Linked DNA regions of Homo sapiens: region 2 is linked to region 1. Evidence: promoter capture Hi-C in 16 types of primary human blood cells and fetal thymus (Javierre and others, 2016). All regions are on one chromosome and are shown on one strand. The core of a region is centred on a gene start or on the middle of the fragment in contact, and the rest is flanking DNA. Distances in the headings are between cores, read along the strand shown. Region 1 holds the start of CHRNB1 (cholinergic receptor nicotinic beta 1 subunit). Region 2 holds the start of TNFSF12 (TNF superfamily member 12).

Region 1 (5,080 bases), core at 1,457-3,956:
CGGCCTCCCAAAGTGTTGGGATTATAGGCATGAGCCACTGTGCTTGGCCCAGAGCCTAGTTCTTAGCCCTCAGCCCTCTTCCTTGTCCTCCCTTTGCTCCCAGGTCCTACATGGACTCAGAAGTTGTCCTCCCCCTCCCCCAAAAAGGATTTGTGCTTTCCATGAGCTCCTTTCTGCCCAGTGATGTGTCTTTTTATCTCTCTGTCTTTGTGCGCCTTTCTGGGTCTTTGTCTCCTTAGCCGCATTTCACAGCTGAGTGTCGCTTTAAGGAGTGTGTCTTTGAGAATTACTACGTCCTGTACGCCTCTGCTCTCTACCGCCAGCGTCGTTCTGGCCGGGCCTGGTACCTCGGCCTGGACAAGGAGGGCCAGGTCATGAAGGGAAACCGAGTTAAGAAGACCAAGGCAGCTGCCCACTTTCTGCCCAAGCTCCTGGAGGGTGGGTATAGACTCAAGAAAATGTGGGCCACAGGAGAGGGTATTGACCTTGATATGGACATTTAGGGGCAGACAGCTCAGGCTACAAGTGATAAGAGGACCCTTTGTGACAGATCAAGCCAGGAAGGCTTTGCCCTTTGGGGGTTTGGGTGCGGTCCTCCTGTGGGGTTGGGGTTCTTGGAGGGTGAATGTACGGGAAGGGAGCCCTTTTGGAGCACTGGTTCTGCCTGGGTCCCTCTGTGCCTAACTCTCCTTCCCTGCTCCTCTCTTTCTCCCCTTCACAGTGGCCATGTACCAGGAGCCTTCTCTCCACAGTGTCCCCGAGGCCTCCCCTTCCAGTCCCCCTGCCCCCTGAAATGTAGTCCCTGGACTGGAGGTTCCCTGCACTCCCAGTGAGCCAGCCACCACCACAACCTGTCTCCCAGTCCTGCTCTCACCCCTGCTGCCACACACATGCCCTGAGCAGCCAGGTCCCACTAGGTGCTCTACCCTGAGGGAGCCTAGGGGCTGACTGTGACTTCCGAGGCTGCTGAGACCCTTAGATCTTTGGGCCTAGGAGGGAGTCAGAGAGGGGGATGTCTGAAGATGGTCCTGGCTGATCACTTCTTTCTTTCCACACTCACACAACGCCATGCCTTTTCCTGAGATGGCGCTGGGAGTTCCCACATGGACAGCCAGGGCATAAACACTTCCCACCCCGGCTCAGCCAGTTCCTGGAGTCCTGTGCCCCTTTTCATTGCCACTGAGCCATTTCTAGATTCACTGGAGCTCAGGATTCATGTGTCCTTCTTTCCCTACTCTACCTTCTACCTTGGTCTGGACACATTCTGGAACACTGGACACCCTCGCCAGGGCCACTTCTGCACTAGGGCTCTGTGCTGGAACCCAGGCATGCTGCCAGCCTTTTCTCTGGATCTGTCAGGCCTCTGTCATTGACTCAGATGGACCCCTGGTTTCCAAGTAGAAAGAGGCTAGATTTGGGCCTTGTCTAGCTGTTGGCTTTGGCCTGAACCGGAACCAGTCTCAGATGACCACGGGTTTAACCTTCTTATCCCAGAGACACCCAATTCTAGAGCTTTATGGAGCCGTACTTCCCCCTGAATCCTAGCTCTAGGACATAGATCATGACTCTCAGCCCTTTTACCCAGGATGGAGCTGGGGCCTGTATAGCCATATTATTGTTCTAAGTAAGTTCTAGCCCCACCCTCCCGCCTTCTTGAGTGATACCTATTACGGATGAGTTCTGGAAAAGACCCAGCTATGATTCATAAAAACACTTCTGGATGAATCAAGAACCATTTCTTGTTTTTCCTAGATAATTCTCTAAAAATATGATTCTTCCATATAGAATGCTAAGCTTATTTTTACATGCAGTTTCTAGCTCCTTCAACCCAGCTGAGGTCGTGCCAGGGAGACAGAGTCTGGAGAAGGGCAGAGGAATTTTGGAAGGATCCCTGGCTCATAGTAGGGAAGCTGGGATGGGGGAGGGGTCAAAATTATGGCATGACTGAACCTGCATCTGTGTTGGGTGGACATGAATACTTAGCTACCTCAGCAGGAATTCCTTCCAGGTCCCCTTTAAAGCTGAGGTCCTTAGAGTAATATGTCCTTAATAAAAAGGACAAATGGATACAGCCTTGACCCTCCCAGTGAGGAGACCCCAATTCAGCAATAAGTCTCACCCTTCTCCCCTACAGGTCAGGCCAAGAAGGGTGAAGGCCTCTTGCACTCCAGACCTCATACGCCCCAACAGCTTCTAATTGGATAGAACTTGCTTTACCTTACAGCTCACAACCTCAGCTGGGTTTTAGGTACCCAAAAAGGGCCTGTCTAGATTTTTTCAGAAAAACGTGGAGTGCTAGGGGCAGCCTGGAAAAGATGGGGAACCTGCTAGTGAACTAGGAGGGAGACTTCCATAGCCTCAGACTTGGATAGGGTAGGCTGAGGGGGCCCTAAGGGAGGGACTAAGGCTCCAAGGCAGGTCACTTTTCCTTAGGCTGTTCTACTTCTGGCTTGTTGCAAGAGGAGTAGATGCCCCCTCACCCACACAAACCCCACTCAGTCTCCACCCAACTCCTGGCACTGCTCCCAGGGGATCGGGTCTCCACTCCAGCTTTCTCAATTAAAGACGATTTATACAACTGAAGTGCTGTCTGTCATCTGTCGGTGGCGGGCTTGGCAGTTGCTCGAGGCAGGATCAAGTCCCGGGGGCGGGGCGGGTGGGCTGGCGGCTGTCCTCCAGCAACAGGTGCACATTCCCGGGCTCCTCGTCACTTCCCCTGTGCTGGCGGTCCCAGCGGCTCTCTGAGCGAAGTCACTGAGCGAGCCGCCAGGCTATGACCCCAGGGGCTCTGCTGATGCTGCTGGGGGCGCTGGGGGCGCCGCTCGCCCCAGGTAAGTGTAGGCCCCGAAGGGGCAGTGACGGGGCCAGCGGTCGTGGCCAGGCACCAGGGCTGCACTTATTCTCTCCTCCCCCAGGCGTCCGCGGCTCGGAGGCGGAGGGTCGACTCCGGGAGAAACTTTTCTCTGGCTATGATAGCTCCGTGCGGCCAGCGCGGGAGGTGGGAGACCGTGTCAGGGTCAGCGTTGGTCTCATCCTGGCGCAACTCATCAGCCTGGTGAGGGCGCGCGGGGGGTGGAGGTCAGGCCAGCCGACCGGCCGGGGGCGTGGCTTTAGGCAAGGCCGGACCAGGGACAGGCTGGGGGCGGGGCCTGGGACGAGACCAGGCTGAGATGGACCAGCCTTTGGTGAAGATTGGATCGAAATCAGACCAATGGACAAGCTCTGGCCGTGGGTGGTGGACGGGCCTGGAGTAGAACTGGGTAGGGTGAAGGACGGACCTGTGATCGGACCTTAAAGTGGGGCTGGGGACGAGGCAGGGGCTGGGGGACGGACCTCGACGTAGGGCCACATGAGTCCTGAGTGCCCAGGGTGGGGCGGAGCTTGGTGCTCAGGGGTCAATAAATGGCAGCGGGTGGAGGTTCGGGGCTGGGTGGATTATGAGCTGAAGGCAGGGCCGGGGACAGAGCTAGGCGGAGGGCTAGGCAGGGGCGGGTCTGGTAGGTTGATAGGCTGGGAGTGTAGACGGCAGGAAGAGGTGTTTCTGAGATAGAGGCAGGTCTTAAACTAACGCCGCTTCTGGGAGGTGGACTTGGACCCGAGAGGATGGGGCTCAGAAAAAGGGGGCGGCGTTCCCAGGAGAGAGGTTGGCCCCCCGAGCCCCCTCATTTCTCTCCACCCTACTTCACCTTTACGCCTTAAATTTTTCCCTTCTAGAACGAGAAGGATGAAGAGATGAGCACAAAGGTGTACTTAGACCTGGTATGGAGACCCCACGGGGTGGGAAAGGGCTTCCCTCTGCCTTGACAATTTCCTTGAATATCCAGCCCAGTAAGAATATTTTTTACATCATGACTTTAGATAACACGTTTATAACTGAAGCAAAAGCTCGAAGAAACAACACTTAACTTTACTACAGGAGTTACACCCCATGCATTTTTAATTCCAATTTTGTGTGTGTGTGTGTGTGTGTGTCTGTGTGTGTGTGTGTGTGTGTGTGTGTGTGTGTGTGTGTGTGTGTGATGCGGTCTCACTATGTTGCACAGGCTGTTCTTGAATGCGGGGGCTCGAGCCATCCACCAGCCTCGGGGGGAACCTCCACAAGTGCTGAGATTACAGCCGTGAGCCACTGCACCTGGCCCATTCTAATTTTTGAAACACTGGTTTGGGGCCGCTAATTTCATTCCCCATCCACTAAAGGATTGCGAACTGCAGTTTGAAAACCGTTTTAGAGGCTAGCTACTGCAGCCTCCTCATTTTTACAGAGTAAAATATTGAAACCCGGTGCGGGGGAGGGAAATTAGCTGATGTGGATCCCAGCGAGTGAAGGCGGAGCCAGAGCCAGAACCACGGCCCCTTGACCCACAGTTTATGCCTGTCCTGCTCCCCTTCCTTGCACTCCCTTCCTGGGCTTCCTTTGGAAATCCCAAGTCCCTCCCGGCCTCCAACCCGGGGCAGCCCCTCAGCCTCTGCTTCACTAGGAGTGGACTGACTACAGGCTGAGCTGGGACCCTGCGGAGCACGACGGCATCGATTCGCTCCGCATCACGGCGGAATCCGTGTGGCTCCCTGACGTGGTGCTACTGAACAAGTAGGAGAACTTCCAAAGCCCGGGAGGTGGCGCGGGGCCTCGGGGGGCGGGGGGCCTCCGGGCGCGGGGCCTGATCCCTGATGAGATCCCTTCTCTGCAGCAATGATGGGAATTTTGACGTGGCTCTGGACATTAGCGTCGTGGTGTCCTCCGACGGCTCCGTGCGTTGGCAACCCCCGGGCATCTATCGCAGCAGCTGCAGCATCCAGGTTTCCGGCCTCCACATTGGAAGCTGAAGGAGCTCTTACAAATCCTCCCTTTCCTTAGACATCCTGACTCCCCGGCGACTCCCATCCTTCATCCTTCCCCCATTATCTAATCCCCATGACCCTCACCTCGTCTACCCTCCTGGTTTTCCATTGAGTGTTCTGTACACTTTCTTTGACTTCTAGTCTTACTCAGTGACCGCCCTCCCCATCCCTCCCCCATTAATGGCTTCCCTTCATAACCCTCCAATTCCTCCATGATTTCCCTTCTCTGTGCCCTCCCCAA
Region 2 (5,080 bases), core at 192-2,691, 100 kb after region 1:
TCACAGCTCACTGCAGCCTCAACCTCCCAGGCTCAGGTGATCCTCCCATCTCAACCTCCTGAGTAGCTGGGACTACAGGCATGCACCACCATGCCCAGCTCTATGGATGCTTTTTCTTGACTCTCTTTAAGTATATTAGGTAGTACTCTTTGTATCCTGAATTATCTCTGTTTCCTCCAATGTCAAATTTTGTTTGTTAATTTTGGTCTTTCTTTCTTTTTTTTTTTTTTTGAGATAGGGTCTTGCTGTGTTGCCCAGGCTGGAGTGTGGTGGCGTGATCTCAGCTCTCTGCAACCTCTGTCTCCTGGGTTCAAGCAATTCTCTGCCTCAGCTTCCCGAGTAGCTGGGAACTACAGGCGCCTGCCACCACGTCCGGCTAATTTTTTTGTATTTTTATTAGAGACAGGGTTTCACCATCTTGGCCAGGCAGGTCTCGATCTCCTGACCTCGTGATCCACCCGCCTCAGCCTCCCAAAGTGCTGCGATTACAGGCGTGAACCATCGCGCCCAGCCAATTTTGGTCCTTCCTTCCTTCCTTCCTTCCTTCCTTCCTTCCTTCCTTCCTTCCCTCCTTCCCTCCCTCCCTCCCTCCCTCCTTTCTTTCTTTCTTCCTTTCTTTCTTTCTTTTTGAGACAAGGTCTGTTGCCCAGGCTGGAGTGTAGTGGTGCAATCACAGCTCACTGCAGCCTCAAACTCCTGGGCTCAAACAATCCTCCTACCTCGGCCTCCTGAGTAGCTGGGACTACAGGCGTGGGCTAATTTTTTAAAACTTTTCTGTAGAGATGGGGTCTTGCTCTTGCCCAGGCTGATCTTGAACTCCTGGCCCCCAGCCTTGGCCTTCTGGGATTACAGGCGTAAGCCACCTGCCGGACCAATTTTGGTGTTTCTTTTGCATGCTGCTGGTCCTCCTCAGATGCTTGGCAATCATTGGTAATGATGGGCTTCAGAACGTGCTACCGGCACAGTGAGTGTTTTAAGCTGAAGGAATTTGAGAAAACCGCAGAAGCCGAAGGATCTTTCTTACCTTCTCCTGCCCTTCTTCCCTGAACCAGGTCATACAACCTGGAACTCCCTGCCCTTTTCCTGAAGAAGCAAATAACAGCCTCCTGCGAGAGGCGCCCTCCCTGCACCTGGGGGAAAGGAGGGTCCTTATCTCTGAAGACACAGGGACACAGAAGAATCTGAACCAACAGGCCTTCCTGAGTTCCCCACCTCCCCGCAGGAGGTGCCCGCACACGCATAGCCCCGTCGCTCCCGCGGCCGCACGCAACGGACCTCGCCCTGGTGGTGCACGCCCGGGCTGGGCGCTCAGAGGTCGGGTGGGCGCCCACTCCGTTCGCTGCGCGCACAGCGCCCGGCGAGAGGCTCGGAGTTTGATCACACACAGCGTCCGGCTTCCTGTCCCCAGCGCCCCCTCCCGCCCCGTTTCCCTTGCCCCTCCCTCTCCCCGGCCCGATCCGCCCGCCGGCTCCCCCTCCCCCGATCCCTCGGGTCCCGGGATGGGGGGGCGGTGAGGCAGGCACAGCCCCCCGCCCCCATGGCCGCCCGTCGGAGCCAGAGGCGGAGGGGGCGCCGGGGGGAGCCGGGCACCGCCCTGCTGGTCCCGCTCGCGCTGGGCCTGGGCCTGGCGCTGGCCTGCCTCGGCCTCCTGCTGGCCGTGGTCAGTTTGGGGAGCCGGGCATCGCTGTCCGCCCAGGTGAGGCCCCGCTGCGCACCCCTTCTTGGGCACATCAGGAGCTGAGACTGCAGAGGGGCCGCTGGGGGCCGCGTGGGCTGAAGGCAAGGGGAAGGGAGGATGGGTGGAGGGTGAGATGTCAGGTGGAGCGGCACAGGGTGACGCTCCCTCCTTCCCAGCAGGAGCCTGCCCAGGAGGAGCTGGTGGCAGAGGAGGACCAGGACCCGTCGGTGAGTGGGCGTGGGCGCGGTCTGCAGGCTGCTGGGGCATGGGAAGTGTGCACAGCCGAGGCTGCAGGTGTGTGCAGCTGTGCCAGCCGTACTCGAGGTGTGTGCAGGGTGTGTGTGAACACAGTGCGTGCATGGGTGCGTGTCTGCAGGGGTGTGTGTGCGTGGTGACAACTCTGTGTGAGGGGTTTGTGCTGGGGTTGTGCCACCTGAGTCTGAGGTGTTTATTGGCTGGGGGTGACGTGGTTGTATAAGATATGTGAGTCTGCGTGGAAGAGGGGTGCGGTTGTGTACAGGGTGTGTATCCTCTGTGCGTGGTGACTGGGTGCGGGCATGTGTGCAATGTGCCAATTGAATGCAGGGTCTGCGTTGGTTGTGTGTGTGGGTGGGAAAGTGTAGCTGGTCTAGAGGAAAGGGTGAGGACTGGGGCCTGACTCCCAGCTTCACCTTTGCCCGGGGCCCCAGCTGTAGTTGGCTGAGGGGCTTAATCTGTCCCTGACTTCTGTGTCTATTGCTGGCTGGTGGCTCTCCTGACAGGCCCCGTATGTCTCACTTTATATCTCTGGGAGTCTGTGGTTGAACCCTGCCCTAATTCCCCTAGGAACTGAATCCCCAGACAGAAGAAAGCCAGGATCCTGCGCCTTTCCTGAACCGACTAGTTCGGCCTCGCAGAAGTGGTGAGCATCCCTCTATCCCAACCTCAGGAAGCGGGCAGAGCAAAAACCATTATCCACAGGGAGAAACTGAGGCACGGAGGGTGAAAGGAGTTCAGAGTCATGCAGCTAACCAGCCAAGACTCAAACCTAGGGATTCTCGCCCTCCTCTGAAGCTCCTTCTGTCATATGGATGTGCTCCTTCAGACCCTACCCCAAACAGGAAGGCAGGGTGGCCATGAGTTAGAAGAACTACTGGGATCCTGATGGAGACTAGGCCTGGCAGTCAGAGGCCTGGGCCCCGGTAGGCAAAGAGACTTAGGAATGGGATGATGGGGTGGCCGGATGACCACGTGTCCAAGTCGGCATGCAGTTGTCCTGGCCCCCACCTGTTATCTCGGTGTGATTAATAGCAGCTTCCCGTTTTGCTCTCAGCAGTATCCCAGTGTGGATGACAAATTATAGTCACTCTACTTACTGAGGAAGATGAGGCCTGAGATTCTAAGGCCAGGAGTCTGGACAAGAATAAGGATGCCAGGGTTCCTGAGAGGGGAATGGGGCTGGGAGAGTTGCTCTGGGACCCCCACTAGGGCCCGCTTTGCTCATCTGTCTTTCCTTGATCCTCAGCACCTAAAGGCCGGAAAACACGGGCTCGAAGAGCGATCGCAGCCCATTATGAAGGTGGGTGATGGGTGAGCCATACCCAGGAGGAGAGGGGCAGGTGGCAGAGGGTCAGGGCAGGTCTCACCAGCCTTTTCCTGTACTTTACAGTTCATCCACGACCTGGACAGGACGGAGCGCAGGCAGGTGAGACCCCATCCCCCGACACAGCACTGGCCTCCTGGGAAAAGGGCCCTTGAAAACCTTTGACCTCCCACTCCCTTCCCGGCCATCAGTCTCAGAACCACAGAAGCCAGTTCATGAAGGTCTTGGTTCTCTCTGTGACCCAGGCGTGGGACCCCATGAAAGACCCCTACTCTTCCCCAGAACTCTGCCCAGTTCCCCCAGCAAATCACTGTCCCAGCTCTCTCCTTCAGCCCTCATTCTTCTCCAAGAAGCACTTTTCATTCTTTTTTCTTCTGTCTCCTCCATATTCCACGTTCTGATGATCTTTTTCTCTAAATGCTGCTAGTGTCTGCTCATCTTTTCCATTTCTACCCCACCCTCTACCTCAGCACCGTGACCTCAGAACCTCAAATCCAGCCTCTTGCTGCTTCCCCACTCCACACCCTCCCTACCCCTCCACTCCATCTGACCTGTGCTGCCATGCTGAGCCCCTAAACTTCACTTTTCTTGTGGTATTGGCTCTCTACATGGCTTCCAGTCTCTTCGTGGTCTGGTCTCAACCTAATTTCCCTGCACTCTTATGCTGTCTTCATGTTTGCTGCGCTGACACCCCTGCTCCCGGTGTGCCTCTTCTGGACTTTGCACATACCATCCCCCTCACCAGAATGTCTTTCCACTGTGAGAGGCAGGGAGGCATGAGGAGTGCTCAGCCGAGGGGTTCACAGCAGAGATGGTGAGAAGTGGATGGGTTCAGCCTGTGTCCTGAAGATATTACTGACTTATGGGTTGGAGGTGAAGAATAAAAGAAAGGGAGGAATCACAGATGACTTCTAGATTTTTTATTTTTTTTAAGACAGTCTCGCTCTGTCACCCAGGCTGGAGTGCAGTGGTGCAATCTCGGCTTACTGCAACCTCTGCCTCCCAGGTTCAAGAGATTCCCGTCTCAGCCTTCCAAGTAGCTGGGATTACAGGCGTGTGCCACCACGCCTGGCTAATTTTTGTATTTTTAGTAGAGATGGGGTTTTGCCATGTTTTCCAGGCTGGTCTCAAACTCTTGACCTCCAGTGATCTGCCCGCCTCGGCCTACCAAAGTGCTGGGATTACAGGCATGAGCCACTGCACCCAGCCAGCTTCTAGATTTTTAACTTGGGTATCTCTGGGAAGAATGATGCCATTTCCTAAGAAGGGATTGACCAAGGAATAAATAGGTTGGGAAGTATGTAAGATAATTATTAACGTTGAGAAGTCTAAAATAAACAAGCGGATAAATGACAATAAAGTAAATTCCAGAAATGGATGGCTGGACATTGTCGACTAGCTTAGGCTAGGTCAGGACGGATAAAGCCAGGAGTCATGGCCATATGGATGGCTTTTTTTTTTTTTTTTTTGAGACAGAGTCTCGCTCTGTCACCCAGGCTGGAGTGCAGTGGTTCGATCTTGGCTCACTGCAACATCTGCCTCCTGGGTCCAAGCGATTCTCCTGTCTCAGCCTCCCAAGTAGCTGAGATTATAGGCGGGTGCCACCACACCCAGCTCATTTTTGTATTTTTTAGTAGAGACAGGGTTTCACCGTGTTGGCCAGGCTGGTCTTGAACTCCTGATCTCAGGTGATCCGCCAGCCTCAGCCTCCCAAAGTGCTGGGATTACAGGTGTGAGCCCTTGTGCCCGGCCTATCGATGGCATTTAAAGCCACAGGATTGGGTGAGACGCCAGGAGAAAGAAGGGCCCCACGAATGAAG

What was found. The method cuts DNA at HindIII sites, captures the fragments that hold promoters and counts their contacts. A CHiCAGO score of 5 or more calls a contact.
Region 2: the fragment with the promoter of TNFSF12 here is called in contact with the fragment with the promoter of CHRNB1 in region 1 in 6 of 17 cell types (total CD8 T cells, endothelial precursors, naive CD8 T cells and 3 more); the score reaches 8.1 in total CD8 T cells.

The regions. Positions count from the first base shown.
Region 1 is chr17:7,442,355-7,447,434 of GRCh38, forward strand. It overlaps CHRNB1 (cholinergic receptor nicotinic beta 1 subunit), which reads left to right and starts at 2,707. Exons shown (of 11, transcript NM_000747.3): 1 at 2,707-2,831; 2 at 2,916-3,055; 3 at 3,715-3,759; 4 at 4,479-4,588; 5 at 4,689-4,797. The coding sequence starts at 2,774. FGF11 (fibroblast growth factor 11) reads left to right here. Exons shown (of 5, transcript NM_004112.4): 4 at 240-438; 5 at 722-2,583. The coding sequence ends at 792. RefSeq lists a silencer at 2,779-2,828. The HindIII fragment of the contact is 9,289 bases long and covers 1,793-5,080 here.
Region 2 is chr17:7,547,617-7,552,696 of GRCh38, forward strand. TNFSF12 (TNF superfamily member 12) reads left to right here and starts at 1,442. Exons shown (of 7, transcript NM_003809.3): 1 at 1,442-1,696; 2 at 1,858-1,905; 3 at 2,504-2,579; 4 at 3,183-3,236; 5 at 3,327-3,362. The coding sequence starts at 1,538. TNFSF12-TNFSF13 (TNFSF12-TNFSF13 readthrough) reads left to right here and starts at 1,442. Exons shown (of 11, transcript NM_172089.4): 1 at 1,442-1,696; 2 at 1,858-1,905; 3 at 2,504-2,579; 4 at 3,183-3,236; 5 at 3,327-3,362. The coding sequence starts at 1,538. RefSeq lists silencers at 1,337-1,526, 1,557-1,636. The HindIII fragment of the contact is 9,939 bases long and covers 1-5,080 here.